Linked DNA regions of Homo sapiens: region 1 is linked to region 2. Evidence: promoter capture Hi-C in 16 types of primary human blood cells and fetal thymus (Javierre and others, 2016). All regions are on one chromosome and are shown on one strand. Each heading gives the region's core, a stretch centred on a gene start or on the middle of the fragment in contact. The rest is flanking DNA. Distances are from core to core; before and after follow the strand shown.

Region 1 (3,956 bases), core at 987-3,486, 130 kb after region 2:
GATGTAGTGGCCAAAGGTATCATACATGCATTGTATATGTATATAGATATATATCTTTCAATGTATGTGGATATATGTCTACATACATATACAATGTATGCATGTAGATATACATTGAAAGTATAGATACATATCTATATACCTACATACATTGAAAGTGTATATAGATACACACACACACACACACACACACATATACAATTATAAGGGAGGGGGACTAGAATAAAGAAACCTATATGGTTGCAATACTTTGACGTTGTATTTAGAGGTAAAAGGCTAACTCTAAGTAGGTAGGTTAGGTGTATATTTTGTAATTCCTACAGCAAAAACATAGCCCAGATATGACCAAAAGCCATTTAATAAAACAAAACACTAAAAAATATTCAATTAATCCAAAAGTAGGCAGAAAAAAGAAACAGAAGAAACCCCCCAAAAAAGAGATAATCAGAAAACAAATAATAAAATAGGAAACCTAAATCCAGTCATTATCAATCGTATTAAATGTAAATGGTCCAACACACATTAATTAAAAGATGCTGTCAGATTACATTTAAAAGAAAAATAAAAAAAACAAGAAACCATTTGAAAATATAATGATGTGGCCAGGCATGGTGGCTCACACCTATAATCCCAGCATTTTGGGAGGCTGAGGTGGGCAGATGCCTTGAGCCCAGGAATTCAAGACCAGCCTGGGCAACATGGCAAAACCCCATCTCTATTTTTATAAATTGAAAGTAAACGAATATCATGATATATAGATTAAAAGCAAAAGGGTAGGGAAAGATATGTCATTCTAACACTAGTCAAAAACAGTATTATGTTACTAATATAAAACACTAATTTTATATTAGTATTAAATAATGGTTTTTTGTTTGTCTGTCTGTTTTCAAGACGGGGTCTTGCCCTGTTACCCAGGCTAGAGTGCAGTGGCACGATCTCGGCTCACTACAACCTCTGCCTCCCGGCTTCAAGCAATTCTCCTGCCTCAGCCTCCCAAGTAGTTGGGATTACAGGTGCCTGCCACCGCGCCTGGCTCATTTTTGTATTTTTAGTAGGGACGGGGTTTCACCATCTTAGCCAGGTTGGTCTCGAACTCCTGACCTCAGGTGATTCACCCTCCTCGGCCTCCCAAAGTGCTGGGATTACAGGCGTGAGGCACCGCACCTGGCCTGTATGTATGTATTTATTTGAGATGGAGTCTTGCTCTGCTTCCCAGGCTGGGATGCAGTGGTGTGATCTCAGCTCACTGCAATATCCACCACCTGGATTCCAGTGATTCTCTTGCCTCAACCTTCTAAGTAGCTGGGACTACAGACGTGTGCCACCACACCAGGCTGTTTTTCTATTTTTAGTAGAGACGGGGTTTCGCCATGTTGGCCGGTCTGGTCTTGAACTCCTGACCTCAGGTGATCCACCCGCCTTGGCCTCCCAAAGTGCTGGGATTACAGGCGTGAGCCACCATGCCTGGCCAAATAATGGTTTTTAGTATAATGATTATTACCAGAAATAAAGGTTATTTCAGAATGATAAAGGGGTCAAATAATCATCAAGAGGACAAAACTGTAAATGTTTCTGCATCTAACAACAGGGCCTCAAAATACAGGACGCATAAACAGACAGAATTTCAAGGAGAAAGAGAACAAACCCATAACAATCGTTGTAGACTTCAACACTCCTTTCTCAGTAATCACTAGAACAAGCAGACAGGAAATCAGCAAGGATAGAGCAGACCTTAACACGATCAACCAACTTGACCTAATTATTACTTATGAAACACTTTACCTAACGGCAGCAGGACACATCTTTCCTATTACAAACTGAACACTCACCTAAAAAATGTTTCAGGCCATATACAAACCTCTAAATTTTTTTTTTTAATTCATCATACCAAGTATGGTCTCTAACCATAATGGAATCAAATTAGAAACCAACAACAAAGATATCTGGGAAATCCCTAAATGTTTGAAAATTAAACAATACGTTTTAAAACAAATCATGGGTCAAAGAGTAAGTCATAATAGAAATTTTACTATATTGTGAACCAAATGAAAATGAAAATAAAACATATATCACAAATTCTAAGATATGTTTTTAAAAGTGCACAAAGGGGCTGGGCGCGGTGGCTCATGCCTGTAATCCCAGCACTTTGGGAGGCCGAGGCAGGTGAAACACCTGAGGTCAGGAGTTTGAGACCAGCCTGGCCAACATGGTGAAACCCCATCTCTACTAAAAATCCAAAATTAGCTGGGCGTGGTGGTGGGTGCCTGTAATCCCAGCTACTCGGGAGGCTGAGGCACGAGAATCATTTCAACCCAGGAGGTGGAGGCTGCAGTGAGCCAAGATCGTGCCACTGCACTCCATTCTGGGCAACGGAGCTAGATTCTGTCTTAAAAAAAGAAAAATGCATAAAGGAGCACAATGGTTTAGCCTGGAATCCCAGCACTTTGGGAGGCCAAGGCAGGAAGATTGCTTGAGCCCTAAAGTTCAAGACCAGCCTGGGCAATATAGTGAGACCTCATCTCTATTTGAAAAGAAAGAAAGAAAAATCAAAGAAAATGAGGTATATATGCACGATAGGATATTATTCAGCCATTAAAAAAGTGAAATCCGGGCCGGGCATGGTGGCTCACACCTGTAATCCCAGCACTTTGGGAGGCTGAGGCAGGCGGATCACGAGGTCAGGGGTTCGAGAACTGACTGGCTAACATAGTGAAACCCCGTCTCTTCTAAAAATACAAAAATCAGCGGGGCGTGGTGGCGGGTGCCTGTAGTCCCAGCTACTTGGGAGGCTGAGGCAGGAGAATCGCTTGAACCCAGGAGGTGGAGGTTGCAGTGAGCCGAGATTGTGCCACTGCACTCCAGCCTAGGTGACAGAGCAAGACTCCATCTCAAAAAAAAAAAAAAAGTGAAATCCTTCATCTATAAAGCTAGAGGTTTGGAAAATAAAACCTATTTGCAGCAACATGGATAGAACTGGAGGACATTATGTTAAGTGAAATAGGCCAAGGACAGAAAGACAAGTATCGCATATTCTCATTCATATGTGAGAGATTAAGAAGTTGATTTCATGGAGATAGGCAGTAGAATGATGGTTACTGGGGGCTGGGAAGCAGGTAGGGATGAAGACAAGTTGATTGATGGGCATAAAAGCACAGTCAGATAGAAGGAATAAGTTTTAGTTTTTGTTTGCACAGTAGGGTAACTAGAGTCAACAATAACTTAGTGTATATTTTAAAATAGCTAGAACATTTGTTATCTTCCCAATACAAAAAAAAGGATAAACATCTGAGATGATGGATACCCTAATTAACCTGATTTGATCATTACACATTGTATGAATCTATCAAAATATTACATGTACCCTTATAAATATGTACACTCTACCTTAAGGAAACAGTGAAAAAAGAAGGTGTGGAACAACAACGACCACAACAAAATCAAAGAGGAAAATCTTTGTGAACTTGGGTTGGTCAGGCCAGGAATCAGCAAACCATGGCCAATCCACTACCCGTTTTTGTAATAATCAAAAGAATAACAATATAATTGATAATTTGTAAATTATGTGAAATTCAAACTGCAGTGTTCATAAAGTTTTATCGGAACAGCTATTCTCATTCTATAGACATTACATATTGTCTACGACTGCTTTCATTGCTACAATGGCAGAGCTGCAACAGGGACAGCAAGGCTGAATATTTACTATCTGACCTTTTACAGAAAAAGTCTGGCAAGATCTGGGTTAGGCAGAGTTGTTAGATGAACAACAAATCTGTAAAAGAAAAAATGTGGTAAAGCAGACTTCATCCAAATTTAAAACTTATGCTCTGGGAAAAAGACACTGCTAAGACAATGAAACACAAGGCACAGATGGGGAGAAAATATATGAGCATCACAGAACCTAACAAAGCACTTATATCCAAAATATATAAAGAACTCTTACTACCCAATAAGAAGAA
Region 2 (3,872 bases), core at 1,194-3,693:
CATGGCTCACTGCAACCTCGATTTTCTGGGTTCAAGCAATTCTCTCATCTCAGCCTCCCCAGTAGCTAGGACTACAGGTGCACACCACCATGCCTAGCTAATAGTGTTGTGGTTTTTTTTTTTTGAGGCGGGGTCTCACTATGTTGCCCAGGCTGGTCTCAAACTCCTGCGTTCAAGCAATCCTCCTGCCTCAGCCTCCCAAAGTGCTGGGATTACAGGAGTGAGCCACTGTGCCCAGCCATTAATATTTAAATTTTTTGTAGAGACAGGATCTCACTACATTGCCCAGGTTGGTCTCAAACTCCTTGGCCTCAAGTGATCCTCCTGCCTCAGCCTCCCAGAGTGCTTGGAATACAGGTATAAGCCACCTCACCCAGCTGTGTGGGAGCATTATTAAAGGTTTTTTTTCAGACAGAGTCTTGCTCTGCTGCCCAGGCTGGCATGTCTCAGCTCACTGCAACCTCCTCCTCCAGGGTTCAAGTGATTCTCCTGCTTCAGCCTCCAGAGTAGCTGGGACTACAGGTGTGTGCCACCACACCCGGCTAATTTTCGTATTTTTAGTAGAGACGGGGTTTCACCATGTTGGCCAGGCTCGTCTCGAACTCCTGACCTCAAGTGATCTGCCTGCCTTGGCCTCCCAAAGTGCTGGGATTACAGGCATGAGCCACAGTGCCTGTAATCCCAGGCACTGCACTCCAGCCTCGGTGACAGAGCGAGACTCTGTCTCAAAACAACAACAACAACAAACTATTTCATCATATATTTAAGGATCAGTTTTTTAAGCAAGTCGTCTACTCACTTTCCCTACCTTGCTCCAAAAGCATAAGCATGAATTATATGTTAAATAACACCTTCCTGAACCTTGTCAAGGAAGTCCATGAAAAATACAGATTAAGATATAGTTATAAATAAAAATAAAAATTTACAACTGCAAATCAAAAAGTAAACTATGGCTGGCTAAGCTTACTCCTAAATTCTAATTCTAAAGGAAGATTTCTCCAAACAGCAGGTGGATGAAATTTCAATGAACTCAAAGAACACTACAGAAGAGGGTAAAAACGTGTTAACTTTCTTCCTTGGGATTCCATCACGGTGACCCTGAGGGGTTACCAAGAATGAAATAATGGTTTAAAACAGAATGCTTCGAAACAGCAATGGCAGACTATTAACGAATGTATTAACTCTTTAAAACAAACAATCCAGTTATCCCTGGCCCACTTTCTTATTTTAGTCCTAGCAACTGAGTTACATAACTTGCAGAGTGAAATCAAGAAGTCCCCGCTGTTGCGTCCTCATGTCAGTGAACAGAGGGAACTCTCCTTTATTATATTTTCAAAAGGTGAAATGTATGAAATTTCTGGGTGGGGGGAGATATCAAATGTCTGTGTGCCTGTGGTTATTAATAAGTTAACTACGAAGTAACTATGGAATAAATAATGCTTAAAAAGAGGGCAAAGATTACGCTTTAGGGTAACAACAATTGGACCCTCCCCAGATAATTCTAATTCATTGAGCGCTTGCATAACTCGAAGTTGAGTAAAAATTTTTGATGAAATATCTCGAGTACGAGGAGTTAGTCCAATGCAAAGTACAAGTACTGCTAAAAAGGATCCGGCCCTTTCCACTACTCATATCTTAATGTCAATACATAGAGAGAGTGAAGACTGCGAGTGCCAAAAAAATGCAGAAACCTGACCTTGCCCACAAGTCGAATAGTTCTGCACCCCTCCCCCAGCTTCCCCGGGAGCCGGTTCACGCAATCCCTATTGGTCAGTCTGCTTATTCCAGCACCTGCCTGGCAGTGATAAGGGAATCTCCAGAAGACAAGAAGGTCTGAAAGGAGGCGGCCTGGGAAACTGTGAGGCCCAGAAGGACAGGGTTCGAAGAGGAAAAGGAGGAGAGAAGCTTCGGAGGGATGAGGTCGGGCGGTTAGGGCTAATAGGGACATGGCTTGGGAGGACGGCTGGGGAACAGGGAAAGGAGATCTCTGGAGGGCCCAGGTGAGGTGACAGGGTGAGGGCCGCCGGCGGCCAGCCAAAAGAGAAGAGTGAAGGGGCTGGAAGGCCTAGGAACGCGGAGAAAGGCGAGCGGAGCTGTGAGGCGCGAGAAGGGCCGGGGCTGCAAAGGTTGGGGCTGCAGGGGCGACAGGGGCGACAGGGGCTGCAGGGGCAGGGAGGGCAGGGACTCAGGGGCCGGCCAGAGGGTGCGGACTCACGTTCTCCCACCAGCAGGATCCGCACGTCTTTCTTCATGTCGGCGGCTCTCGGGGGCCGGCCTCCGCCCGCACGCACGGAGTGGACTCCTCTCACCAGGAGCACCCACCCCACGGCGCCACCTGCCAGCCTCTTCGGCCGCCGGGGCCCGCCGCGCCGCCCCCTCAGTTGCTTCCCCGCAAGAGAGCCGGGACAGCGCCAGCTCCGCCTCCTCCGGCCCAGCGGGCTGTGGCGGCGGCGGCGGCGGCGGCGGCGGCGGCGGCGGCGGCGGCGGCGGCGGGGACGACGGCACGCGGCGAGGGACACGCGCTTTCGGAACGCGAACGCGCTCTGCGCCGGAACAGCGCTCCCGCTGTCAGGCCGCCGCAGCGCAGGCCCAGGGAGCCTCGCCCACCCTCCTTTGGGCACCGCGACCCCGGAGACACTTGGGCCAGGAATTTGAATGGCGGATTCCCTGGTTTAACCCCGTTTATTTTATAGATAGGGACAGAAATTCCCTGTTCAAAGTCACATAGCTAGAGCTTGGCAGTGACTCAGAGCAGGGATCTTCTCACCAGACCATAAACTCCGGGAGGGCAGCGATCAGCTTGCATGGTTTTCAGCTGCGTCCCCACGTTATTGGATAGGGCCGTCAGAAAATGCTTGATCGAGTAGGGCGACTGGCTCCCAGGATCCGGCGCTTTCCACTCCCCAAAGCCCGTCACCCTAGTTGCTTTTGCCTCTGATGCTTATAAAATACGATTATAAGATTCGTTTTTACGCTGTGTGAACAAGACTCCTTTCTTTATAACCAAACTAAGTGACTTTTTTTCTGTCTATGTAGTTTATTTTATGGCAGGGTTTTCGGACACTCTTCTTTACTCAGGCTTACCCAGCGTAATGCTAGACACGGAGGTGGCACTCGATAATAAACTCTAGATGATTTTTCTAACATTGCCTTAATTTTCTCGTGACCCTCTCCATCTGGAGGAATTTGTTGTTACATGCTTAATGTTTGGTACACAATGGCAAATATATATATATACATACGCGTGCGAATATATATCACATCCCTAATACTTGGCACACAGTGGGAAATATAAAATACATAAATTAATGAGGAAGCACTATCTGTGCATAATGTACATTTTTTCTATCTTAAATATTACACAATAAACACTTAAAGGGAATGAAATGTGCGTAATACCAACTTCCCTTTCTCCTAGGAGAAGTCATGTGGTCTCTTGCAGCAGTTAAGAGTTGCTGGCAAATTTCCTGGGTTTGAATCTAGGCTCCACATAATAGCTCTGTGATCTCGACTAAGTGCTTTTATTTTTACTTCCCTCAGCCACTGTTCCTTCTTCTGTAGCATGGAAATAATGATGATAATACCTTCCTCTTGAGATGGTTGTGAGTAATAAATACTATAATACTTGTCAAGCATTTGGTACAGTGCCAGACTCAGAGCGTGTGCTCTACTGATCTCAGCTATCATTATTATATTAAAAAGTCACTAAAAAGTTGTAATCCACAGATTTTTTGTTTTGTTTTGGTTTTGTTTTGAGACGGAGTCTCGCTCTGTCGCCCAGGCTGGAGTGCAGTGGCGCAATCTCGGCTCACTGCAAGCTCCGCCTCCTGGGTTCACGCCATTCTCCTGCCTCAGCCTCCCGAGTAGCTGGG

The links. Contacts are between HindIII fragments. The CHiCAGO score rates a contact against its expected background, and 5 or more counts as called.
Region 1: a contact is called between a fragment that was not itself captured here and the fragment with the promoter of RHOT1 in region 2, in 15 of 17 cell types (megakaryocytes, erythroblasts, M2 macrophages and 12 more). The highest score is 16.3, in megakaryocytes.

What each region holds. Positions count from the first base shown.
Region 1 is chr17:32,009,949-32,013,904 of GRCh38, reverse strand. All of the region lies in intron 1 of LRRC37B (leucine rich repeat containing 37B), which reads right to left. Among named protein-coding and RNA genes, the nearest start is that of LRRC37B, 4.5 kb to the right of the region's middle. The HindIII fragment of the contact is 9,549 bases long and covers 1-3,956 here.
Region 2 is chr17:32,141,073-32,144,944 of GRCh38, reverse strand. It overlaps RHOT1 (ras homolog family member T1), which reads right to left and starts at 2,443. Exons shown (of 20, transcript NM_001033566.3): 1 at 2,216-2,443. The coding sequence starts at 2,252. It overlaps LOC105371730 (a long non-coding RNA gene), which reads left to right and starts at 1,810. Exons shown (of 2, transcript NR_136413.1): 1 at 1,810-1,920; 2 at 2,232-3,719. RefSeq lists silencers at 2,163-2,222, 2,253-2,482 and an enhancer at 2,943-3,112. The HindIII fragment of the contact is 3,152 bases long and covers 1,908-3,872 here.